Linked DNA regions of Homo sapiens: all the other regions are linked to region 3. Evidence: promoter capture Hi-C in human tissues and cell types (Jung and others, 2019). All regions are on one chromosome and are shown on one strand. The core of a region is centred on a gene start or on the middle of the fragment in contact, and the rest is flanking DNA. Distances in the headings are between cores, read along the strand shown. Region 1 overlaps EIF2B1 (eukaryotic translation initiation factor 2B subunit alpha). Region 2 overlaps MTRFR (mitochondrial translation release factor in rescue). Region 3 holds the start of RILPL2 (Rab interacting lysosomal protein like 2).

Region 1 (3,927 bases), core at 603-3,102, 190 kb after region 3:
TTTATGCCTCCTGTTGAATAAATGGTGTCCTGATTGCCTGGGTCTTAAGTGTGTAAATGTAGCTGGACAGTGTTTTCCCCTAGATGGCCTGGTCAGCTTGCAGTATTGATGCAACACCACATCAGCGTCTTTCATAGAGTTTATTTGAAAAGATGCTGAATTTATTCCCAAGTATAATTTTAAAAAGCTGTTTAGGACCCAAACATATTTAAACATCTCTTACACATACAGAATTTCAGTTTACAAATATTCCAGAAGGCATTTTCTTAAGCAGTGAACCATGCAGAATACTGTTGCTAAACATCGTTTCTGCCTTCCTCGTGTTCTCTTGGTAGTTTTTACTGTTTGGCTTGATCCTGCTGAGGAATGTGCTTACCACTGGAAGCCAGATGCAGATTCAGCAAGTGTTTCTTGCCTCTTACAAGGCACCGCGTGTAACGTCCTGACCAGCTGTTGGTCATTTGTGGCAGAGGGGTGTGGCTGCTTTTCGCCTGCATCTCGCGTGCTTTAGGCAGATCAGTCTGGAGTGCAGGGGAGGATGAAGACAGGTGGACTTGGGCTCATCTTTCATCAGTTAAGTAGCCAATTATCTAACTTGTATTTCTGGAAACTGAAAAGGAAAGTTTCTAGAAACCGTAAGAACAATTTAAGTTGGGATTTAGAATAGCTGACACATTTTTAGATGGGACTGAAATGAGTAAGAAAGGTTCTCCAAGATGTATGATTTTAAGTCCTTACTCCATAAATCTTCATTAAACACATCTCAGTTTTGGCCTGACTCACTGGGGTGTCAAGCAGCTACTCACCCTGCCTCAACTACGTAAGCTGCACCTTGGCAGGAAAGGGCTCACAGGTTACAGATAGAGCTTGATGAGCTCATCGCTGACTGCTGAGGGTGTCAGCACGCCCAGGTCTGTAAACAGCAGAGTGATTAAGGAAGGGGCAGTGTAGTCGACCCACGGATGCTCCTCTTTGAGGTCTTGTCCAGTCTGCGCGACCTTGAGAGTGTCTGCCTTATACTGAGGAGAGAAGTACACATTAGTCGGCACTGAATATTTAGTGCTCTGACCTGGTAGGGCCTTGGTGTGAGTGATCAGTGTGCTACTTCCTGAGACTGCTCTCTGAAAATGGGAGAAACTAAGCTATGCAGGACACTAGAGACGAGGGCAGAGTTGTGGCCATGAGCCAGATCATGGCAGTGTGCTGGCTGAGAGCTGTAGTGTAACAAACTTAAATCCCATGTCCCCTCATTCTCATGCCGGATTAACTTCTCCAGACCTCTCAAGGGAAGATCGAGAGTCACAATAGAGAGCTTGCAGCGTGCCAGGGACTGTGCTAAGATTATCTTAGAATCCTCATGACCCTGTCAGATACTGCTATGCCATTTTACAGACAAGAAAACCGGTTCAGAGGTTGAAATGAAAGGACTTGCCTCAACTCGCACAGTTTGTAAGTTGTGGTGATGGGAGCTGAGCTCAGTTAAGCCCAAAGCTGGGACTTACCCACCAGCTTCGGGCTTCCTCTCCACCCATCTATGGTGCTACTTAAAGAGACTGAAAGACTGAAGTTCTAGGGACAAATGTGTGAGTCCAATCACCAATTTATCTTTGTATTCCAAGTGTTGGGGAAAGTAGCAATAGGAAGTGAAAAAATTACTGGAACATTCTTAGGACTACAATTTCCAAAGGTTTCTGTTTAGACTTTAGTACCCCTTCAAATATGTAAAACTCTTGCCTTAAACTTATCTGGGACGTCTTGCTGGTTTAGTGGAAAGAGCCGGACAAACTTGAAACTTTCTGCAACCACATAGAAAGGTTTGTTCTGTGCTTTGGCACACACAGCCATCTGGTTGGTTCCAATCTGGGAAGGCAGAAAATGGAATGGATGAGCTCTAGAGTGCATCTGAAGTAGAAGCCACAGAAAAGCGGGCCGGGCACAGTGGTGCATGCCTGTATTCCAGCATTTTGGGAGGCCGAGGTGGGTGGATCACCTGAACCCATGAGTTTGGGACCAGCCTAGGCAACACGGTGAGACCTCGTCTCAATTACAATAAAGGAACAATTAAAAAACAGCAATAGAAAGTTATGTATATAATATAGATATACATATATCTAATACATATATTAGATATATCTAATTCTGACTTTGGAATCAAAAAAATAAATGTTTCTCAAAGGATATAGAAACAGCCACTAGAGGCTGGATGTGGTGGCTCACGCCTGTAATCCCAGCACTTTGGGAGGCCGAGGTGGGTGGATCACCTGAGGTCAGGAGTTTGAGACCAGCTGGCCAATATAGGGAAACCCCATCTCTACTAAAAATACAAAAAATTAGCTGGGCATGGTGGGATGGGGGGTGCCTGTAATCCCAGCTACTAGGGAGGCTGAAGCAGGAGACTCGCTTGAACCCGGGCACTGGAGGTTGCAGTGAGCCAAGACTGTGCCATTGCACTCCAGCCTGGACAGCAAGAGTGAAACTCCATCTCAAAAAATAAAAAAATTTAAAAAAACAAGTGTTGGCAAGGATGTAGAGAAATTGGAACCTTTGTGCTTTGCTAGTGGGAATGTAAAGTAGTGCAGCTGCTGTGGAAAATCATTAGTTTCTGAAAGTTAAATATATAGTTACCATGTGACTCAACACTCTGCCTGCAGACCTCCGCCTCCCAGGTTCAAGCGATTCTCCTGCGTCAGCCTGCCAAGTAGCTGGGATTACAGGCACCCGCCACCATGCCCAGCTAATTTTTTGTATTTTTAGTAGATATGGGGTTTCACCATGTTGGCCAGGCTGGTCTCGAACTCCTGACCTCAGATGATCTACCTGCCTCAGCCTCCCAAAGTGCTGGGATTATAGGCGTGAGCTACTACGCCCGGCCTTATGTTACATATATTTTAACTAAAAAAAGCTTTCATGAAGCTTTTCTAAATTAAATAATGGAGAGAGAGATTGTAATAAATTGAGGTCAAATGTGCTCAATTAAAATGAAAACAAATGACAGGCCGGCCACAGTGGCTCATGCCTGTAATCCTAGCACTTTGGGAAGTGGAAAGATTGCTTCAGGCTAGGAGTTCAAGACTGCAGTAAGCTATGATCACTGTACTACACTACAGCCTGGGCAACAGAGTGAATGTGTCTCTATTTTAAAATATATATAATATTTATATATAAATACACGTATTTTATACATACATACTTTATATGTAAATATATAAATAATATTTTAAAAATATTTGTGTATATATATTATGTGTGTGTATATATATGCATAAATAAAACATACATATACACATAAATAAAGCAAAAACCAGACAAACCCCAATTCCAATTCAAGCCAATTTTGTATAAATATAAATTACACTTTTTTTTTTTTTTTTTTTACTGAGACAGGGTCTCACCATCGCCCAGGCTGGAATGCAGTAGTGTGATCATAACTTACTGCAACCTCAAATTCCTGGGCTCACGTGATACTCCTGCCTCAGCTTCCTGGGCAGCTGGAACTACAGGCAAGCACCACCACGCCCAGCTAATTTTTCTAATTTTTTGTAGAGACAGGGTTTCACTATGTTGCCCAGGCTGGTCTTGAACTCAAGGCCTCAAGTGATCCTCCCACCCTGGCCTCTCAAATTGCTAGGATTACAGGTATAAGGCATCACACCTGACCAAATTACATTGTCTTCATTTATGTAGATCAATCTAAAAAAGATTTGACTGAAACTGGACTGCCCATTGCTATGACTTACGGGAAATGGGCAACAACTCAATACCATGATGAAGTCCTGAAGTGAAGCAGGATTAGAAGGAACCATAATCAACACTGCTGTGGTGTCCTAGGTCAGCAAGACACCTCCAAGTCTTGAGCAGGGAACTGGGGAGAACTGATGCTCTTACCTTGTTAATAATTCCTCCGTTTTCAACAACTCCTTCAGCACC
Region 2 (3,944 bases), core at 512-3,011, 200 kb before region 3:
ACGTGGTGGCTCACGCCTGTAATCCCATCACTTTGGGAGGCTGAGGCAGGAGGATTGCTTGAGCCCATGAGTTCGAGACCTGCCTGGGCAACATGGCAAGACCCCATCTCTACAAAAAATTAAAAACTAGCCAGGTATGGTGGTACACACCTGTGGCCCCAGCTACTGGGGAGGCTGAGGCAAAGAAGCTTGCTTGAGCCCAGGAGGTCAAGGCTGCACTGAGCCATTTTTATGCCACTGCACTCCACTTGGGTGACAGAGGGAGACCCTGTCTCAAAAAAAAAAAAAAGAAGAAGAAACTGCTTTGGTTTGTATATGTTTAAGTCCTAAACAAACACAAGGCATCGTTAATAGAAATATAGGCTTTGAGACTTTTGGAAGAAAATATACAGTGTTGTTATTCCTGCTTTTTTAATGTGTTTCTGTTTTAATAGTGTAGTTGATAAATTATAAAGTTCCCGTTAGATGCCATAAATAGAACAAATATGGGGCCGGGCGCGGTGGCTCACACCTCTCAGCACTTTGAGAGGCCGAGGCGGGCGGATCGCCTGAGGTCAGGAGTTCAACACCAGCCTGAGAAACACGGTGAATCCCCATCTCTACTAAAAATACAAAAAATTAGCCAAGCGTGGCGGCATGCGCCTGTAGTCCCAGCTACTTGGGAGGCTGAGGCAGGAGAATTGCTTGAATCTGGAAGGCGGAGGTTGCAGTGAGCTGAGATTGCGCCACTGCAGTCCAGGCTGGGTGACAGAGTGAGACTCCGGCTAAAAAAAAAAATAGAAGAAATATGATACACACAAATAGCACAGGTGTAATTCTGTGGATTCAAAGTTTTCTGCTTAAAAAAAAATAAACGGGGCCAGGCACTGTGGCTCACGCCTGTAATCCCAGGACTACGGGAGGCCAAGGCAGGCGCATCACCTGATGTCAGGAGAAACCCCCGCCTCTACTAAAAATACAAAATTAGCCGGGCATGATGGCAGGTGCCTGTAGTCCCAGATACTCAGGAGGCTGAGACAGGAGAATCACTTGAACCTGGGAGGCAGAGGTTGCAGTGAGCCAAGATCACGCCATTGCACTCTAGCCTGGGTGACAAGCGAAACTCCGGCTCAAAAATAAAATAAAAATGAACGAGATGTTGGGATTGTGTGAAGTGAATGTTTTCCTCTTTACTTCATTAGCTATCTCTTGAATTCTGCAGCATTAAGCATTCAAGCATTAAGCCTGTTAAATTTAGACCAGACCTAGAGTAGTCTCTTTTTCCTCCCGTCCGCCAAAATCAAAGACTACAGCTCTGCATTTCCTGCTCAATCTATTATGCTTTCCTTGTTTGAGAAATAACTATCTGCAAACACTTACTGTGAGTGAAGGGTGCTTTATCTTCAGCGTAAAACCCCAAGTCTAGGAAATGGCATGGTCTGTTTCAAGCCTTACCAGCAATACTCACTGGTTCCATTTGAGAGGTTTCAGCCCTTAAGGATTTCAGATACCTACAGCAGGAGGATGAGCTAACAGGAGGATGTGAAAGACAGGGAAATGCTACTTTCTTTTTAACTACCATTTTACAGACAGCACCAAAACACTTTTTTTTTTTTTGAGACGGAGTCTCACTCTGTCACCCAGGGTGGAGTGCAGTGGTGTGACCTCAGCCCACTGCAACCTCTGCCTGCCAGGTTGAATCCATTATTCTGCTGCAGCCTCCCGAGTAGCCGGGACTACAGGTGCACACCACCACATCTGGCTAATTTTTTGTATTTTAGTACAGAGGGGGTTTCACCATGTTGCCCAGGCTGGTCTGGAACTCCTGAGCTCAGGCAATCCACCCTCAGCCTCCCAAAGTGCTAGGATTACAGTCATGAGCCACCACACCCAGCCCCAAAACACATTTTTGAAACATGAATTATTATTATTAAGCATTTGTCAGAAAATCATTTTCCCCTCACTTAGCTTCTGGCACCACCTGCTGGCCGTTTTGTCTTTTCAAAGCAGCAACATTGCACGTTGGTCTGTTTAAGCTCAATGTTGTTTGGCCCTTAACTGTTTATTAGGTCATTGTTTTGAGACCTATGGTTTCATCTCCTTCTTAAGGAAGAGACAAGACGGAATAAGCAGGTAATCAGCCCTCCTGAATTCTTGTCTCAGTTTCTTAAATGTCATATAAATAAGAAACATGCTGGGCATGGTGGCTCATGACTGTAATCCCAGCACTTTTTGAGACCGAGGCAGGCAGATTGCTTGAGCTCAGGAGTTTGAGACCAGACTGGGCAACATGATGAAACCCCATCTCTACTTTTTTAGAAAAGAAAAAGAAAAGCTTTTAAAAGTGTCTGTCCTAGCAATCAGAAGAACTTGCTGATTCCTGTGTTCTGGAACAATGCTTGTCAAATTTTATGTGCCTCTGCATCACCTGAGGATCTTGTTAGGCTGCAGGTTCTCATTTGGTAGGTCAGAGCAGGGCCTGAAATCTTCATTCCTAACCATCCTCCACGTGGTGCTTTTGCCACTATGTGGACCACACTTTGGGTAGCAAGATTCTAGAGCTACATTGTCCCATAAAGTAGCCACCAGCACATGTGGCCCAAACTGAGATGTTCTGTAAGTATGACCATAACCTAGAATTTGAAGCCTTCATATTTAGGGGGAAAAAAGAATATCTCAATTTTAAAATATTGGCTGGGTGCAGTGGCTCACACCTGTAATCCCAGCACTTTGGAAGGCTGAGGAAGGCAGATCGCTTGAGTTTGAGTTCCAGACCAGCCACAGCAACATGGTGAAACCCCGTCTCTACAAAAAATCCAAAAATTAGCCAGGCATGCTGGTACATGCCTGTAGTTCCAACTACTCAGGAGGCTGCGGTGAGAGGATGGCTAGAGCCTGGAAGGCAGAGATTGCAGTGAGCTGAGATGGCGCCACTATACTCCAGCCTGGGTGATGGAGCCAGACTGGTCTCAAAATAATAAAACGTTGATCACGTGTGGAAATAATAGTTTTGATATATTGGGTTAAATATACATTTCATCATTTATTATTTCTAATGTAACTACTAGAAAATTTAGAATTTCACATGTGGGTAGCATTAGTTTTGTTTTTTTGTTTGTTTTTTTGAGACAGAGTTTCACTCTGTTGCCAGGCTAGAGTGCAATGGCGCAATCTCGGCTCACCGCAATCTCCACCTCCCAGGTTCAAGCGATTCTCCTGCCTCAGCCTCCCAAGTAGCTGGGACTACAGCTACGTGCAACCATGCCCAGCTAATTTTTTGTATTTTTAGTAGAGACGGGGTTTCACCGTGTTAGCCAGGATGGTCTCGATCTCCTGACCTCATGATCTGCCCGCCTTGGCCTCCCAAAGTGCTGGGATTACAGGCGTGAGCTACCGCGCCCAGCCCAGTAGCGTTAGTTTCTATTGGACACCACTGTTCTAGAACATTAACACAACAGAGGTGACATTTTTTATTTTTTTTTCCCCCAGATGACCCAGTTTCCCAATCTCCTTGTTTCCATGTCACCATCTCTGCTAGCTCAAATCAGTATTTGTTTAATTCTTTTCTTGGGACGATTTCCTTGCCCTCCCATCACACTCCTTTACACCTTCTCAGCCTTCACCATTGCCATCATGATCCCAGGGATCTCATCAAGCAATGAACAGTCCTATGTGCCAGAATACTAGCAGCATCCTTGTTTAAAGCACTTAGCCTTGCCATGGGGTGTGGGGCCTGGACCAGCAGCAACAGCCTCATCTGTGAGCTGGTTAGAAATGCAGAGCCTCGCCGGGCAAGGTGGCTCACGCCTGTAATCCCAGCACTTTGAGAGGCTGAGGCTTGTGGATCATCTGAGGTCAGGAGTTCGAGACCACCCTGACCAACACGGTGAAACCCCATCTCTATTAAAAATACAAAAAAAAAAAAAAAAAAGCTGGACGTGGTGGTGGGCACCTGTAATCCCAGC
Region 3 (3,516 bases), core at 388-2,887:
GCACACGCTTGCAATCCCAGCTGCTCAGGAGGCTGAGGCAGGAGAATCGCTTGAATCCAGGAGGTGGAGGTTGCAGTGAGTCGAGGTCACGCCACTGCACTACAGTCTGAGCAACAGAGCAAGATTCTGACTCAAAAAAAAAAAAAATCTACAGTAGTTTCTCTTTAGTGCCTGGCTTCTTTCTCTCAATGTTACATCTGTGAGATTCATTCACACTGCTGTGTGTATCAGCACCCCGTTCTTTTTCTCTGTTGCATAGTATTCCATATATCACAATTTCAAAACTCAATTGGGTTGCATTTAGAGTGTTTCCAGTTTGGCAGCTGAGACTAAAGCTGCTCTGAATCTTCTTGTCTATGTCTTTTTGTGGTCATATGCACTAATTTCTCTTTAGGTAAAATGTGTTTCTTGTCCAAGTGTGGTGGCTCACATCCACAAGCCCAGCACTTTGGGAGGCCAAGGTGGGAGGATTCCTTGAGCTTAGGAGTTTGAGACCAGCCTGGGTAACGGTGAGACCCCCATCTCTACAAAACATCAAAAAAGTTAGCCAGGCATGGTGGCACATGCCTGTACTCCCAGCTACTTGGAAGGGCAAGGCAGGAGAATTGCTTGAGCCTAGGAGGCCAAGGCTGTAGTGAGCCGTGTTTGCACCACTGCACTCTAGCCTGGGAGATAGAGCAGGACCCTGTGTCAAAAGAAAAAAAAAGTGTTTCTTGCTCTAGGTCAAAGGTTCTCAAACTGTGGACCCTGGGCCAATAGCATCAGCATTAACTGCGAACTCGTTAGAAATACAGATTCTGGCCAGGCAGGGTGGCTCACACCTGTAAACCCAGCACTCTAGGAGGCTGAGGCTGGGGGATCACTTGGAGCCAGGAGTTTGAGACCAGCCTGGGCAACACAGCGAGATCCCATCTCTTAAAAAAAGAAAAAAGAGAAAAGAGAAGAGAAAAGAAAAGGAAGGCGTCTCCCTGCCAGTAGGTGCCCTCCTACGCCCCGCAGGCGCCGTGGGCCCGGAACCCTCGCTCCCACACTCACCTCCCCGCTGGCCGGAGGGCTCTGTCTCCGCAGCCCCTCCACCTCCTTCCTGAGGTGGTCCCTCTCCATCTTCAGCTCCTCCAGCGCCAGGCTGCCCTCATTCACCAGCGCCTCCAGCATCTCCAGGACGCGGACGACTTTGAACTGCAGCTGCGTCACCCGGGGGTCGCTGCCCAGGGCCATAAGCTCGCGGCCCAACAGGTAGGAGATGTCATACACGTCCTCGGCGGTCAGCTGGAAGGGGCTCTTGCCCAGCGCCCCCTCGGGCCCAACCTCGTCCCTCTCCTCGTCCTCCTCTCCCTCCTCCTCTTCCTCTTCTCGCACAGGGGGCTCCTCCATGGCCACCCAGACCCCCGCCGACCTCGGAGCTGCTGTCTTGGAGTCTCCCAAAGGTTAGACTTCCTCCCGGCACCCAAAACTTTCCGCTGGGCAGAGTCCCTACCTGCCCAATCAGCGCGGCCCGGGGGTGGGCCCGGGGGGATGGTGCAAGGGGCCGCGCACGCGACTCTTGGGCCTGCGCCCCGGCGCACCGTCCCCGCTGCCAGCCACGCTGGAGAGTGCGCTCCAGGATGTGGTTTGGGGCGCGAAGGGACAACGGAAAAGGAGGCAGCCGAGAAGAGGAACGGGGAAGTTCAGGGGTGACGGCAATCGCCCCAGCCTGGGAACAGTTGCAGCCCCGGGGAGGAGCCGCCCTGAGCCCCGCCCCTGGCGACCGCTGCCAGGAGGTGCGTTTCCGTGGAGACGGAGTTTCCACCGTGCAATCCAGAGCGGGGTAAAAAGAACGCAACTTTTTCCTTTCCACCCTCGTGCTTTCCAGCCGTAGAATTTGCATCGTAGGTGATGGAAGATCCGGGTGTCTCTTTGAGGGTGTTTTCTGGAGCCTGCGGCCAAACAGAAAGCAGCTGCTGGGGGCAGCGCGACAGAGTCCCCGAGGCTTGAGGATCTGGAAAACTCCCAGGCAAATTGTCACTAGGGCCTGGGGCGTCCGACTTCGCTGTGACTCTCAATAAAATGGAGAATGTCTGCCCTGCTCACTTCGCTGGGTCCTCGGCTCCTCCACGTAACCAGCGCTGTCACCTTGGCAAGTTACTTAACGTCTCCGAGCCTCAGTCTCCTCCTCTGTAAAATGGGGACAATAGCGGGACCCAGGTGGCAGGGTTGCTGCGAGGAACATGAGCTTATGAGATCATGTGTGCGACACCTCAAGCACTTAGGAAGCACTCACATACGTGACTGCAATCCTTCATTCTTTCTTTCTTTCTTTCTTTCTTTTTTTTTTTGAGACGGAGTCTCCCTGTGTCGCCCAGGCTGGAGTGCAGTGGCGCGATCTCGGCTTGCTGCAAGCTCCGCCTCCCAGGTTCACGCCATTCTCCTGCCTCAGCCTCCCGAGTAGCTGGGACTACAGGCACGCGCCACCACGCCCGGCTAATTTTTTTGTATTTTTAGTAGAGACGGGGTTTCACCATGTTCGCCAGGATGGTCTCGATCTCCTGACCTCGTGATCCACCTGCCTCGGCCTCCCAAAGTGCTGGGATTACAGGCGTGAGCCACCGCGCCCGGCCCCTTCATTCTTTCTTCCACAGCGCTAGGGAGGAATTGCTGGTGTTGGAGACACCTTGCTACTTGGGTGAGAGAAGGAGGAGTAATTAACAAGAGAGAAACCCCTGTCTGAAAATCACAAAGCATTCGACACATATGCGGAATCCATATTACTGAGAATATTAGCAGAGTGGCGTAGAAACTTGAGTCATTCGCTGTGGCTCATGCCTTAATCTCAACACTTCAGGAGGCTGACGCAGGAGGATTGCTTGAGCCCAGGAATTTGAGACTAGCTTGGGCATCATAGTGAGACCCTGTCTCTACAAAAAGTAAACAAAAGTAGCTGGACACAGTGGTTCATGCCTGTAGTGGCAGGTACTCGGGAGGCTGAGGTGGGAGGACCACTTGAGCCCGGGATGTTGAGGCTGCAGTGAGCCAAGATCTCACCACAGAGTGGTGCCTGTGACAGAGTGGGACCATGGTGACAGAGTAAGATCATGTCTCAAAAAAAAAGGCACAACAAATCTCAAGTTATTTTAGGTTTCACTGGAGGTTTGTGATAGTCTCAGGCAGAAAGCTCAGCAACGGGGCTTGTCTTTCCCAGGAATGTATTGGCAGCTTTCCTTGTGATAGGTGTATCCATTTTCTCCACACTGAGGTACTAGAATCTCAATGGAGAATGTACATAGATTAAACCAACCAACAAAAGCAAAGCAAATTAACAAAACACACTATTTTCAGAGGGTCGTTTCTTTTTATTTTATTTTATTTTATTTTATTTATTTGTTTATTTATTTATTTAGAGACAGAATCTTGCTCTGTTGCCCAGGCTGGAGCTCAGTGGCATGATCTCGGCTCACCGCAACCTCCGCCTCCCTGGTTAAAGCAATTCTTCTACCTCAGCCTCCCCAGTAGCTGGGACCACAGGCGCATGCCGCCCCG

The links. Contacts are between HindIII fragments. The study calls those that stand out against the background at their distance.
Region 1: a contact is called between a fragment that was not itself captured here and the fragment with the promoter of RILPL2 in region 3, in 3 of the 25 tissues and cell types used here (IMR-90 fibroblasts, aorta and dorsolateral prefrontal cortex).
Region 2: a contact is called between a fragment that was not itself captured here and the fragment with the promoter of RILPL2 in region 3, in 1 of the 25 tissues and cell types used here (dorsolateral prefrontal cortex).

What each region holds. Positions count from the first base shown.
Region 1 is chr12:123,620,902-123,624,828 of GRCh38, forward strand. EIF2B1 (eukaryotic translation initiation factor 2B subunit alpha) reads right to left here. Exons shown (of 9, transcript NM_001414.4): 7 at 3,886-3,927; 8 at 1,735-1,860; 9 at 1-1,019. The coding sequence ends at 855. It overlaps DDX55 (DEAD-box helicase 55), which reads left to right. Exons shown (of 14, transcript NM_020936.3): 14 at 1-42. Among named protein-coding and RNA genes, the nearest start is that of SNORA9B, 6.2 kb to the left of the region's middle. RefSeq lists an enhancer at 476-1,675. The HindIII fragment of the contact is 7,939 bases long and covers 1-3,927 here.
Region 2 is chr12:123,236,318-123,240,261 of GRCh38, forward strand. All of the region lies in intron 1 of MTRFR (mitochondrial translation release factor in rescue), which reads left to right. It also overlaps a transcript of MPHOSPH9 not described here. Among named protein-coding and RNA genes, the nearest start is that of MTRFR, 4.9 kb to the left of the region's middle. RefSeq lists enhancers at 1,198-1,247, 1,858-2,057. The HindIII fragment of the contact is 6,290 bases long and covers 1-3,944 here.
Region 3 is chr12:123,435,047-123,438,562 of GRCh38, forward strand. RILPL2 (Rab interacting lysosomal protein like 2) reads right to left here and starts at 1,638. Exons shown (of 4, transcript NM_145058.3): 1 at 1,036-1,638. The coding sequence starts at 1,374. RefSeq lists an enhancer at 614-1,543 and a silencer at 1,385-1,644. The HindIII fragment of the contact is 18,752 bases long and covers 1-3,516 here.